2 separate regions of the Homo sapiens genome follow, and region 1 is linked to region 2. Evidence: promoter capture Hi-C in 16 types of primary human blood cells and fetal thymus (Javierre and others, 2016). All regions are on one chromosome and are shown on one strand. The core of a region is centred on a gene start or on the middle of the fragment in contact, and the rest is flanking DNA. Distances in the headings are between cores, read along the strand shown.

The links. The method cuts DNA at HindIII sites, captures the fragments that hold promoters and counts their contacts. A CHiCAGO score of 5 or more calls a contact.
Region 1: a fragment that was not itself captured here is called in contact with the fragment with the promoter of GARIN1A in region 2 in 1 of 17 cell types (M1 macrophages); the score reaches 5.1 in M1 macrophages.

Annotation. Positions count from the first base shown.
Region 1 is chr7:128,766,733-128,773,237 of GRCh38, reverse strand. CALU (calumenin) reads right to left here. Exons shown (of 7, transcript NM_001219.5): 6 at 5,583-5,782; 7 at 1-4,175. The coding sequence ends at 4,071. It overlaps OPN1SW (opsin 1, short wave sensitive), which reads left to right. Exons shown (of 5, transcript NM_001385125.1): 5 at 579-753. The coding sequence ends at 698. Among named protein-coding and RNA genes, the nearest start is that of OPN1SW, 5.8 kb to the left of the region's middle. The HindIII fragment of the contact is 705 bases long and covers 3,464-4,168 here.
Region 2 is chr7:128,670,245-128,676,544 of GRCh38, reverse strand. It overlaps GARIN1A (golgi associated RAB2 interactor 1A), which reads right to left and starts at 4,253. Exons shown (of 5, transcript NM_001128926.4): 1 at 3,995-4,253; 2 at 686-870. The coding sequence starts at 4,147. RefSeq lists a silencer at 3,332-3,391. The HindIII fragment of the contact is 20,881 bases long and covers 1-4,739 here.

The DNA of each region.
Region 1 (6,505 bases), core at 2,567-5,066, 97 kb before region 2:
TTAATAATTTCTTAATCATTTCCCTTCCAACTTTTAGCCTGCACGAGCATGTGTGAAGCACAGAAATCATACCACATGCAAAAATCTCTAAAATATCTTATCATCTGAAGGTACTGGGGGATTTCCTATCCCATCTGAAATCCGAGCTAATAAACACCAAACCCTAAGTGGCAAAAACCCTACTTTCAGATGGTATTGTTTCCTCAATCCCAGAGGTAGACTCAAAACTAATTTGAAACCTCCCTGGATAGAAGAGAATTGGCAGTCCTTTCCAGCTGGGAGCACCTGCTAGTAATGGAGGGGCCTCTGCTGACAGTGCTTTTATGAAGCAGGATGGTTTGTGAATTTACCAACAGTGAGGTCTCAGACTTGACCAGTTTAGGATTACCGTAGACCCAGGAGTAGTTCTAGACTGGAATCTAGATAGTTTTCAGGATGGGGAAGATAGATTCAAAACCACCTAAGGGCATTCTGGGTACAAAGCATTGTGCAAGGCTTTGGTGATACAGAGAATAAGGTCTTTTTTCCCATACTTCCTCATCTGCCAAGGTTATCTCCAATTGTACCTTTCTCTCCAGTTCCAAGCTTGCATCATGAAGATGGTGTGTGGGAAGGCCATGACAGATGAATCCGACACATGCAGCTCCCAGAAAACAGAAGTTTCTACTGTCTCGTCTACCCAAGTTGGCCCCAACTGAGGACCCAATATTGGCCTGTTTGCAACAGCTAGAATTAAATTTTACTTTTAAGTAAGTTTCTATTGTCTCCGTCAGAAACCAAACTACTAAAAACACAAAAAAGATGGTAAAAGGAGTGATGGCAGTTTGGGGAGTCAATTTTTCATTTTCTTACTATTGCCTTCTTGCCTACAAAGCTACTGTTTCCACTGGTCTATTTCAGACCACCCAAAGGCCATTTCAACAATCATCAGTTTCTACTCCTAAGTGGCACCATTCACAGCACTTGGAGAACTGATTTCTACATACAAGGCAACCAAAAAGGAATATGCTTTAAGTTTTCAGTGTATGGATACTTTCCTTTTTAGTAACTTTTTTTTTTTTTCCTGCTGGGGATCCATTCTGAGATGATATATGCTGAATTAGAACAAACTTAAGAAAACACTTTAGAAATGGGAGAGACATAAAGAAAAAACAAAACAAAACAAAAAAAAAAACAAAAAAAACTCAGTGGCCCCAAATATGAGTTTGAAAGAACTTTTGGATAACTGCTACAGCTTTGGCAGGAACAGCCATGTCCACAAGCCCCTGAGCAAGCACAAATTATTCCAGGTGCTTCCTCCCCGTTGCATTTGGCTAAACCTTTATATTTGTCTTAAACTGTGTGTTTACTAAAGTTAATAGTTTAATTCTCTCGAGGTTCTCAAAATGAATTTGCATGTTTTAATAACATTTGTAAACAATACCAAAATGTTAAACAAAATTGTTTTACCTTATGCTCTATAGATAAACGTGTGTGTACATTCAGAATCGCTTGTGTTTGGTATCAGATAATTATATAACGAGCAGCAGGTCTCTCCAGTTATACGGCCTAATGGAAGTAAAAAAGGGTTATGGCTGTGGTGAGAAGGATGCTAGAAAATACCAGAAAACAGGGAGAAAAGAATAATCATTTAGGAGAAGGCAGTGCTGTCTCTGAGTTTGGGAGAACTTCGAGGAGAGTTCCCATTCTGACATTTTAGAGCATCCATAATTCTAAGCTAGAGTTCTATTTCTTGGAAAATGAAGGTCATACATACCCCATAATGAATGTAAACAGTTTTATTTAGAAACAGATAGGTACCTGTTCGCATTGCAGAATATAAAACTTGGTTTACACTCTATAAAAAATAACCAATATCCAAATTCAAGAGAGCTAGCATTCACAGAACACACAATATGGGTGTGTAGCTACTGTTCACCAGCCTCAGGCTTGATTTAAACAAACAAACAAAAAAAAAATTTCAAAGGGATCATTCAAGATGACCGTATAATGCTTGCTGCTGTCTTTGCAGATTAAGGTTTGCTTTTCAAGTGCATGATTTTAACATAAGGCCTGGGCTCTCTGCACCTAGTGAGGTGTGAGGCTCTCTTGCCACACAGTTCACACTCTCACTTAACTAAGCCAGAGTTGGTGGCATTATTAAATTATCACTGGTCTTCTTAATAGTAAAAATGGGGAACCCAGAGGGCAGGAAATTTCCATTACCCTATATTGGGGCTAAACTTAAAAGAGTATATCCACTATCAAGAGCTTAGTACAAAGGCTGGGGTGAAGTTACATTATACCTGGCTTTTTACCATACCAGGGAGCCCACCTCAACATGACTGTGGAAGACCAAAGGATATACCTAGGTTCAGATTATAATAAATCACCCAGCACCACCTGAATGTATTATCCACAAAGATATAGCAATAATAAAGGTTATATATACATATATTTATCTTGGTAACCTGAGGGCTAAAAACGTGGAATACGATAATTCTTCTCAAGAGGTCCATCTGTAAGAAAGGGACCCAAAAGGACAGTGTTTGTGTTGCATAAAATATGGGTAAAGTGGAGTTGGGAACAAAGGGTGGTTTCTTTAGCTCTTTCCACATCTCTCTTTGATAAGGACTGAAACCCTGTTGATTCATGATAAACGTTTCCTTTTTTTTTTTTTTTGGCAGCGGGGAGAGGGAAAGAGGAGGAAATGGGGTGTGATGGGTCAAAGGCAGGAAAGGTAAGCCATGGTCCTCAAACCAAAGAGCCCTCTCTGTAGGTCCTCTGATCTTTGAGTGTGAGCTCAAGCTCTCCAGTGGACACAGAAAAAGGCCTGGTAGTAAGTGGTTTGCATTGTGAGGTATGAGGATCCCTGGTAAATTCAGCAGCATGTGGTTTTTGGAAATCAGCCCACAAGATAAGAACACTGCAACCAAACTCATAACTAATACTGCTAATTTAACTATTGTCCAAAAGAGAAAGGGAAGAAGAAAAAAATCCCCACTCTACTGGGAGGTTCTAGGCTTTCCTATAAGTTATCCAAATAGTCTTTTTTTAATCTCAGGGTTTCTTAAGAGAATTCCCATTCAGTGACCATTTCTTTCGTTAAAGGCACTTTCAATGACATGATTGGAAAGGAGTGAATTTTAATTGTAGTGAAACCAAGATTAATTCCTTGGCACACCTGGGAAGAAGAGGAACCGGATGGGGGCATTTACAGTGATTTCAAAAGGCAAATAATTAAGTCTTGAGCATTTCAACAGATGCACACCCAGAAAAAAAATGTATGCCCCGAAAACACTTGTATTTTTCCTTTAGTTTTCCAGCTGTTTCTATCTATAGCTCTGCAAAGAGATCACATTCACTACTTGATTGATTTTCAAGACACTGGCCCTAACTCTTCCCACCACAGCTGTGCTTGACAAAATTAGCCAACAGTCAGTCCTACAGGGGGAAAAAGAAGAAAATCAATTTGGGCCAAGCTTTCCTAGAGCAAAGGGATCTTTCCTTGCCCAGGTAATGGCAGGTTCAGTTGCTGGACCTATAGCAACTGAATGTAATATGTGGCCCCTACTACCTATGAAATGTTGGACTTTTTGACAGGCAAGACTAAGTGTTCTCTCTCTAAATATAAATTGTGGAGCATATATTTTTTTTCTTTCCTCTCTCCTGAACATTTCTTATTGATCTCAGGCTTACAAAATTAGTTAAGTGAGAATTATTAAAATCATAAAAGGGGTTGAGAAAGAGTAAAGAGCTAATGTTTGTCTACATGTGTGAGTTGAGGATCTTGATCCTTCATATCATACTCCCAACCAGAGAAAAATACAAAAATAAACACGCCATGTTAATACATAATACAAAGTGTAAATCTACAAACACAAGTGTACTAATTAGAGTTGTTCCTCAGAAGCACGGCTTCCCTCCAGTCCCTCAGAGAGGAGGAGGAATGGGGACGGGATGGTTTTCATTACGCCTTTTCATGTCTTAAAAAGTTTGTAGTAACAGTCTCAGTAGCGCAAACAATTTCATGTGAAACCAGAAGCTGTAAAAATAAATTACTTTTGAGGAAATGAGGGTTCCTCCGTAGCTCAGAACTCATCATGCCGTACTAAGGCCTCCCCAAAATCTGTGGCCTGGCTGCCAACAAATAAGTCATACTTGTCAACGATCTCCTCCTTGGTAAGCTTGCCATCCTGAAAGTAGAGATAGCAATGAATTGAAGAAGAACATATTTCCCATTAAAAATTCAGAAACACTGTTATAGAAGAATTGGGGTTAATCAGAAGTTAAGATTCTCATTTCTACTAAATTAAGTGTGAACTACTCAGCCCTCATTCCCCCTACATACATACGAAGAGGGAAGAAAACAGCAATTACACATTCCTTGTTTTTTTTTTTTTTTTTTTTTGAGACGGAGTTTCGCTCTTGTTGCCCAGGCTGGAGTGCAATGGCGCGATCTCAGCTCACCGCAACCTCCGCCTCCCGTGTTAAAGTGATTTAAGTGATTTTTCTGCCTCAGCCTCCCGAGTAGCTGGGATTACAGGCATGCGCCACCACGCCCAGGTAATTTTGTATTTTTAGTAGAGATGGGGTTTCTCCATGTTTGTCAGGCTGGTCTTGAACACCCAATCTCAGGTGATCCGCCTGCCTTGGCCTCCCAAAGTGCTGGGATTACAGGCGTGAGCCATCGTGCCAGGCCAATTAAACATTTCTTTTATCAAGAAAGTTAAAAGTGGAAGGGTGGAAAGAATATAACACAACAACTCAATGCTAGAGATAAAGGTTTGTTTCATGAGGAGAAAACTCTCCTTTTAGAGGAAAATATGGAACATCTCCTAGATAGGGATGACTACATGCATTTCCTTTTCTCATACATCTCAGGACACAACACCTGGCTACTAAAGTGACTTTGAGCAAGAACTTAAAGCAGATCAACACTTAAAAAGGCTCTAAAATAAAAAACTGAATTTGAAATTGAAGATTAGCTTAGACAAAAATATACTCAGAACACTGAAAATCTCCATCTTTAGACCGATTTTCAGCTTACTCCAAGCAGGGCAGGAGTAATCTCTGAAGCAGGTGACTGGGCTTAGGGACAACAATACTTTTAACAAAATACCTCAGATAATTAATTGATCAAGGACAATTTGAACAGGCTCCAGAGAAAAGCTGATTTATAGCCCATACAAAGGACCCAATTTAAAAAAGCCTATTTGATTTAAGAAGGAAACAACCAGCTTTGAGTAGACAGAATGGGCCTGTAATAGGTAAAGGAACAAATGAAGTAACAAAGAAAAAAAAAAATTCCTGGGGATCTAAAAATACCTGATGATGCATGCTGGGCACAGGCTACACACAAAGGCTCTTTTCTGAAGCCAAATTTCCTACAATGCTATCAGCACTGGGCAAAAGGATTTCTAAAATGAGATCAGATAGCTAGTGCTGCCCTGAAAGGTTTTAATCGCCAGATTCAGATACTTGGCTGACTTAGACTAATTAAGACCTTAAATGCTCTATGCACCTTAACAGAAACTGTTCAGGTGATCCCCTAGAAGCATACTTCAATCAAGGATAGAGCGTGTGGGCCTCGCCAGACTTACCTTGTTTTGGTCTGATTCATAGACCAGGTGCCTGGCTTCTGCCTCTGCATGATCATAGTCTGAGGGAAGGATCCAGTCTTTGGTCTCTTCCTTGTCCATCTTCCCATCACGGTTCTTATCCCGAAACTCAACAAACTGCTCTCGCTCTGTCTTTACCCATTCTGGCTCATCAGTATTCCCATCATGGCTGTACATGTCACCTGGGTACACAGACATACATACAAAAGAAGGGTTTGTCTTTTCCCCAAAACTGCCTCATGCTAATCTGGCCTAACCCTTTTTCCTCATCCATTTGTTTGGAACCCAACAGCAGCTACAAGGGTATTTTAGGCCAGACAGACCTTAGAAAGCAAGGTATTTTCCTGAGGCTTAATCACTTATCTTGCAACAAGAATATTTCCAGCTGCTGATTTTAAGTCACATGAGAGCAAAGAGTTCTTATACCTTAATAAATGCAGAAATAAGAGGAGAGAGCTACCATCAAGAAAGACTTAGACTCGTTCCCTACATTTCATTTCACCCTAAGGTAGCTAATTAAACGGGACCACTTGTTTTAGAAAGGTGTAGCCAATTACTACAAAGAGTCCATTATACCAGTGGCCTTCAGTTGGGACAAGCACGCCCCTGGGGAAACAGGAACACTGTCAAGGAGTACACTGAGAAAGGTCAGTCAAGAGAGAATCAAATTCCAGATACTCAGTTCCACATATAGATTTTTCCAAAAATTGATCTTCATAAGAATGTACCTCTGGCCATCAAGGCTTTTTTCCCATCTCCCCCCTTTCACAACTGCCCTTGTCCCACTTTATAAAAGAAAGGCATATTTTCAACCATTTTGAAACTAGAGTGTAAAAAGCTCCAAGATAATGAAAAAGAAACAATTAGAAATACTAGTGTCTGGATGGGCGTGGTGGCTCACACCT
Region 2 (6,300 bases), core at 3,004-5,503:
ACTCATATTACTAAAGAAATTATCGAAATGATATTTACAAAAAGATTTTAAAAGACATGGAAACGTGTCTATATATACACACACACACATATATACACACACACTTACACACACACACACATTTACAGAAAAGGAAGCCAAGATTCTCAAAAACCAGGCTCGAGACAAGGACTGGGTACTGCCCTATCCCAGCACGAAGCACAGTGCTTGGTAAATATAGATACTAAATAAATAAGGTCAGGCGCGGTGGCTCACGCCTGTAATCCCAGCACTTTGGGAGGCCGAGGCAGGTGGATCACGAGATCAGGAGATCGAGACCATCCTGGCTAACACAGTGAAACCCCATCTCTACTAAAAATCCAAAAAAAAAAATTAGCTGGGCATGGTGGCAGGCGCCTGTAGTCCCAGCTACTCGGTGAATGGCGTGAACCCGGGAGGCGGGGCTTGCAGTGAGCCGAGATCCCGCCACTGCACTCCAGCCTGGGCAACAGAGCGAGACTCTGTCTCAAAAAAAAAAAAAAAAAAGATACTAAATAAATCGTTGCTAAACAAATGAATGAATGAGTTCTACAGGGTTTATGCACTAAAGAACGCTATCTTTTCTTTTGATCTAAAATCCAGCTACAAAGCAATGCATATCCCAGTCAATCATTCCATCCCTTCCCGCCCTCCCTCAAGCCTTTACCTGCTGAGGTTGATGACTGGGGCGTCACCAGGTGTGCTCCAGGTGGTAAATGGACCCTGGGGCCAGGTAACATTGGCCATCAGGAGGACATTGGGGAGTGGCAGGGAGGGCACCGAGGAGGTGACCCCGAGGATCACGGTGGCAGACCCTTCACAGACATCTCTCCAGTTCCCGGGCTTAGTGACCTGGAAATCAGCCTCAGGTACATGGGTCAGAAAGGAGCAGAAAACAAGGGGTGGAATACAGATGCTGGAAAGTGGCACATCATCTTGGGGGCAGGTGTGCACACACTGGGCTGGGCCCTGACCTGCTATTGATCCTTTTCATTGGCCTCCCCAAATACACTTTAAGGTCATTGGCTGCAGGAACCCTGTGTCATTCTTCTCTGGGTCCTCTGTTTTATCTAACTAAAAAGATAACTGTTTTATCTAACTAAAAAGATGCACTAGCAAGAAAAAGCTGAGTGGCACTGAAGTTTTCATTCCCCCATCTTTGGGCAGGAGAAGCCAGCACTGGTTTCTAGTGGCCCAAAAGGGAGATTGTGTGAAGAAAGTCCCAGAAGGAGAGGAAAGTGAGGAAAAAGCTGTTGAATGGGGAAGACCCAGACAGCTTGAGTTGAGGGAGGTTTGGAGCACTTCTCCCAGGATGATGGAGGGGCTATCTTGTTGCTGGGTCTTGAGTGGAATGAGGACCTATTCTCTTGAAGCAGAAGGCGGCCATCACAGGACAGAAAGACTGGATGCCCACCACTGGGCACTGTGTCTCAGCTAAGACACCCCCCACCTCACTGTGCACGGCTGGCAGAAAAGCACCAGAGCTGTGGCCACTTAGGAGCCACAGGGACCTGGATAAGGAACATATGAGGAGGGACGCCTATGTTCCCAAGGCCAGAGGGCCTTCTCCCAATGCTCTACACTTTTTTTAGAAAATAGAGATGGGGTCTCACTATGTTGCCCAGACTGGTGTCAAACTCCTGGGCTCAAGTGATCTTCCCTTCTCAGCCTCCCAAAGTGCTGGGATCACAGGCATGAGCCACTATGCCCAGCCAATGTTCTAGACTTTGTAAAACTATCGACACCATTGCCCAGTCCTTGGTGGAACTGGGGATGAGGGAAAGCCCCAGGGATGACTGAAATGTAATTTCCCACCAGCCTGACCAGATGGTGTTCCCAGAAAAGTGAATTTTGATTTTGAAAAAAAAAAGTGACACTTCTTGGAGCCCTTGTTGAGGAATGAAATTCATATCCTCTGCAAAACACAAAGGGTTGTACACATTGAGAGTAAGTGCTCAATAAATGTTTGTGGGTAATGCTGCTTTGAGATGATGATAGTGATGGTGATGTGCAGGAAGGGGGAGAGAGGAAGCAGTGTAACTGTACTATAACAACTATAACTATAACTAATATGTGGGTTGCATCACTTCAAGTAAACTTTGGACTGTGTGCGGTCATTCATGCCTATAATCCCAGCACTTTGGGAGTCCAAAGCCGGAGTATCACTTGAAGCCAGGAGTTCAAGACCAGCCTGGGCAACATAGTGAGACCCTGTCTCTATCAAAAATTTTTTTTTAAAAAATCAAACTTTGAACTTTTCTGTGCGGGTCAGCCTCTCCCTAGCACATTCTAAGTTTGCTGCTACCCAGGTCACTTAGTGTCCATTCAGAGAATCTAAACAGTTTTAATATTAGGCCAAAGAAAACAGCACTTTGGGAGGCCAAGGCGGGCAGATCATGAGGTCAAGAGATCAAGACCATCTTGGCCAACATGGTGAAACCCCATCTCTACTAAAACACAAAAAAATTAGCTGGGCGAGGTGGTGCACGCCTGTGGTCCTAGCTACTCGGGAGGCTGAGATAGGAGAATTGCTTGAACCCAGGAGGCAGAGGTTGCAGTGAGCCTAGACCATGCCAGGGCAACGGAGTGAGACTCCATCTCAAAAAAAAAGCACACATTAAGAGAAGAAATTTGCAGCTGAATCATTACACCCAAATAGAAATGACTAGAAATTGGATCCTGAGACTGGACTTCCCATGTTATTGCTCTGTCTCCACCAAGGGTATGTTAGGAATGAGCTCGCCTCAGGTTTGCCAGCTGATCACCCAACTACACATCTCCTGGGGCACAGTAAAGGGACCGTGGAGCGGCAGGAGCCATAAACACAGCTCTCCAAAATCCGGGGACTCCATTAGGGAGCAGCTCGCTGCTCTGTGAAGAGTCTCCAAATTAAGCCCAAGACCCACCTCAAACTGTTCCCACCTTCTCTCCTATAACCCCTGGCTACTTTCCCATTCCATTTGAATGGGTCTGTGTCTTGCAGACCTTGCATTCCAGCCTCCCTGCCTTTCCTTAGGTACTTTGAAGCCCCTCTGTCTGGGATATCCTCCCCGCTGCTCTTCCACTTACCAAAATCTCAGCAGTCTCTCAAAGAATGGCTTAAGACCCTTCTGGAAAGCCTTCTTCAACTGCCAAAGTCCAGAGAGAATGCCTTGAATGAATGCCCCCAGCACCTGCTCTCTGCAGTCATGCCTGGTGCATCAGCTGGCCCAAGCTCTCTGACATAGAGCTTGCTTAGACAGTTACCAAATAACAGGTAAACCAAACTCATAGGCTTCCTGGCCAGGGACACTCTGATTTTTCTCTGCACCTCCTGCCCTGCACTCAGTAGATGTTTAGTGTGTGCTTACTGGCTGATTAACTGGTTATGCTCTCCTGCGCAGGAGCATGGGTTCAGGCTAGACCGCTAGAGGGAGGCAGGCAGCACCCGCGTTAAGACTTGATACTTACGAAAACGACCACCTTCCACTCCCAGTGGCCCCATCCCAGGCTCACTTCCATTGGTCATGTCACCACCATCCTTTTAGGGAATGGTAGGATCTGGGCAACACCTATTTACCCAGTGTCTTTGCTTTCAAACAAGGCTGTTTCTAAACCATCCCAGACTGAGGAGGATGGATTTCAGAGCAGAGTTTCTAACAGCAACCTTCATTCCCTGTAACCATCCACTTTGGACAAGTGGCCCAGAAAGGGCCTGTGAACCCTGCCTGGAGACTGAGCTCTGATCTCTCATTTGTAAAGCATAAATCAATTTCCCTAGAACAGATGACCTGCAGGTAGCTCTATCATACGGTAGGCACAAATGGAGGTGAACTTGGGACCCAGACCTTCTGGTTTTCTCTAGCTTTGGTGGCTTCTTTGTCCCCCCGCCCCCCCCTCCCCCAGGGCTTTAAAAGGCCACAGCATCTCCTAACCAACCCCTAGGAACAGGTTTTGGAAACAGAAAGACAGCTGGCCCTGAGCTCCACGAGGGTACCTGGATAAAGTTGCTTTCAAACACCACCGAGTTGGAGAACAAATTGAATTCTGGAGAATGAATCAGTTGACAAAGAAGGCCATTTTCCACCCCAAGTTCCACTCCAGGGCCTGGTTCCCTGACCTCAGGTGGGAGGCCCCTGATTTTACTCATTGGTTCTTGGTAAGAATGGGCTTGGGAACATTTCTGGGGCTCCACGCCGACCCAGCCCAATGCCAGGATGTTGATGTGATCTGCCCCCACCTCCCCAGCATTTCCTCCCCATTTACTTACGGGCTGTCCACCAGGGCTGGGAGGGCCTGTCAGCTCACAATGGCAGGAATGACATCAAGGAATGTGATGGTGACAACAGAAAAGGGAAAAAAAAAAGAAGAGGAAGGACAGAGGATGTGCCAGGCTCTTTTCTCCCTCTTTCCACCAACTACAAACCAGCAGTAATGCAGCCTATTCCACTTTGTAAACATTCAGCCTTACCCCACATGGAAAAAATGACCCTCCCAAAGTTATGCCAAGGCAGCAGTGAGCTGGCCAGATGCAAGGAAGGCTCTCGGGAACATACAGGCTTTAATCCTCTTGGCTCCCCTTGAAGCCCCTCACCAAACTTCCATGGGACTTGTTCACCTGCCCAGGGAAGTCTAAGGATAGGAAAAAGGGAGTTCATCTTCCCTACCCCATCTCATGGGAGAAAAGGAGATTTTTTTTTTTTTTTAAAGAAATGGACACCTGTTAACTAAACTGAGAAGCTTATTTATTTGGAAACAGTGGGCAAAGGAGAAGGCAGTGGCACAGTTGTATGCTGGAGCCAGACCAAAACAGGTCACGAGAGCTGGTTGTTACATTTTCAGGAATGCTACAAACCAGTTGTTAAACACAGCAATTATTAAAACTTTTTTTTTTTTTTTTTTGAGACAGAGTTTTGCTCTTGTTGCCCAGGCTAGAGTGCAGTGGCGTGATCTCGGCTCACCACAACCTCCGCCTCCCATCTTCAAGCAATTCTCCTGCCTCAGCCTCCCGAGTAGCTGGGATTACAGGCATGCACCACCACACCCGGATAATTTTGTATTTTTAGTAGAGACAGGGTTTCTCCATGTTGGTCAGGCTGGTCTGGAACACCTGACCTCAGGCGATCCACCCACCTCGGCCTCCCAAAGTGCTGGGATTACAGTCATGAGCCACCAAGCCCAGCCTTTAAAACTTAAATGATATAAACTTGGCTGGGCTTGGTGGCTCATGACTGTAATCCCAGCACTTTGGGAGGCCGAGGTGGGTGGATCGCCTGAGGTCAGGTGTTCGAGACTAGCCTGGTCAACGGGTGAAACCCCGTCTCAACTAAAACTACAAAAATTAGCCGGGTGTGGTGTGGGTACCTGTAGTCCAGCTACTTGGGAGGCTGGGGCAGGGCGATCGCTTGAATCTGGGAGGTGGAGGTTGTGATGAGCCAAGATGGTGCCACTGCACTCCAGCCTAAGCGACAAAGCAAGACTCTGTCTCAAAAAAAAGAAAAGAAAAGAAACAGTATACAGTGGTGGGCTGCTGCATATCTCTTCCCAGGGTGTGTTCAGGAACTTCATCTTGTTAGCTAGCTTGAAATCAGCAAGTGCTACAAATCAGGGTTTGATTTATTGTTCTGTTGATTGTCTAAACTAAAGTGATAGAGAAAATGTTAATTATGCAGATTAAACTTAAAGATGTGTCTGTAGCTATTATATTTTGGGCATAGAAAAATCTGAGAAAATAGCCTTCCAGTATTTGAAGACTTACCTAATTTAGCGAAGAAGTTGCCCACGTCATTGACAAATGAGTAAAGTTCCAATACACAACTTTGTTATTTCACTTTTGCCTTGCTCATTAATGTAAATCAAAATATCAACCAATATTCATGTCAGAACTATACTTGCTTGTCAGTTGCAATCATAGGTTGGCTAGAAATATCAGCGTTTGACAAAAATCAACAAAAGCTTTTGGTAAGAATCAACTGGTCATATGAAATTTACAATAAAGAGTATTATAAGGCCAGGTGCAGTGGCTCACGCCTGTAATCCCAGCACTTCAGGAGGCCAAGGTGGGTGGATTGTTTGAACTTAGGAGTTCAAGATCAGCCTGGGCAACATGGTAAAACCTCGTCTCTACAAAAAATACAAAAATTACCCGGGTGTGGTGGCACGCCCTGTGGTCCCAGCTATTTGGGAGGCTGAGGTGGGAGGATCACTTGAGTCCAGAAGGCAGAGGTTGCAGTGAGCAGAGATTGTGCCACTGCGCTCCAGCTTGGGTGACAGAATGAGACTCCCATCTCAAAAAAAAAAAAA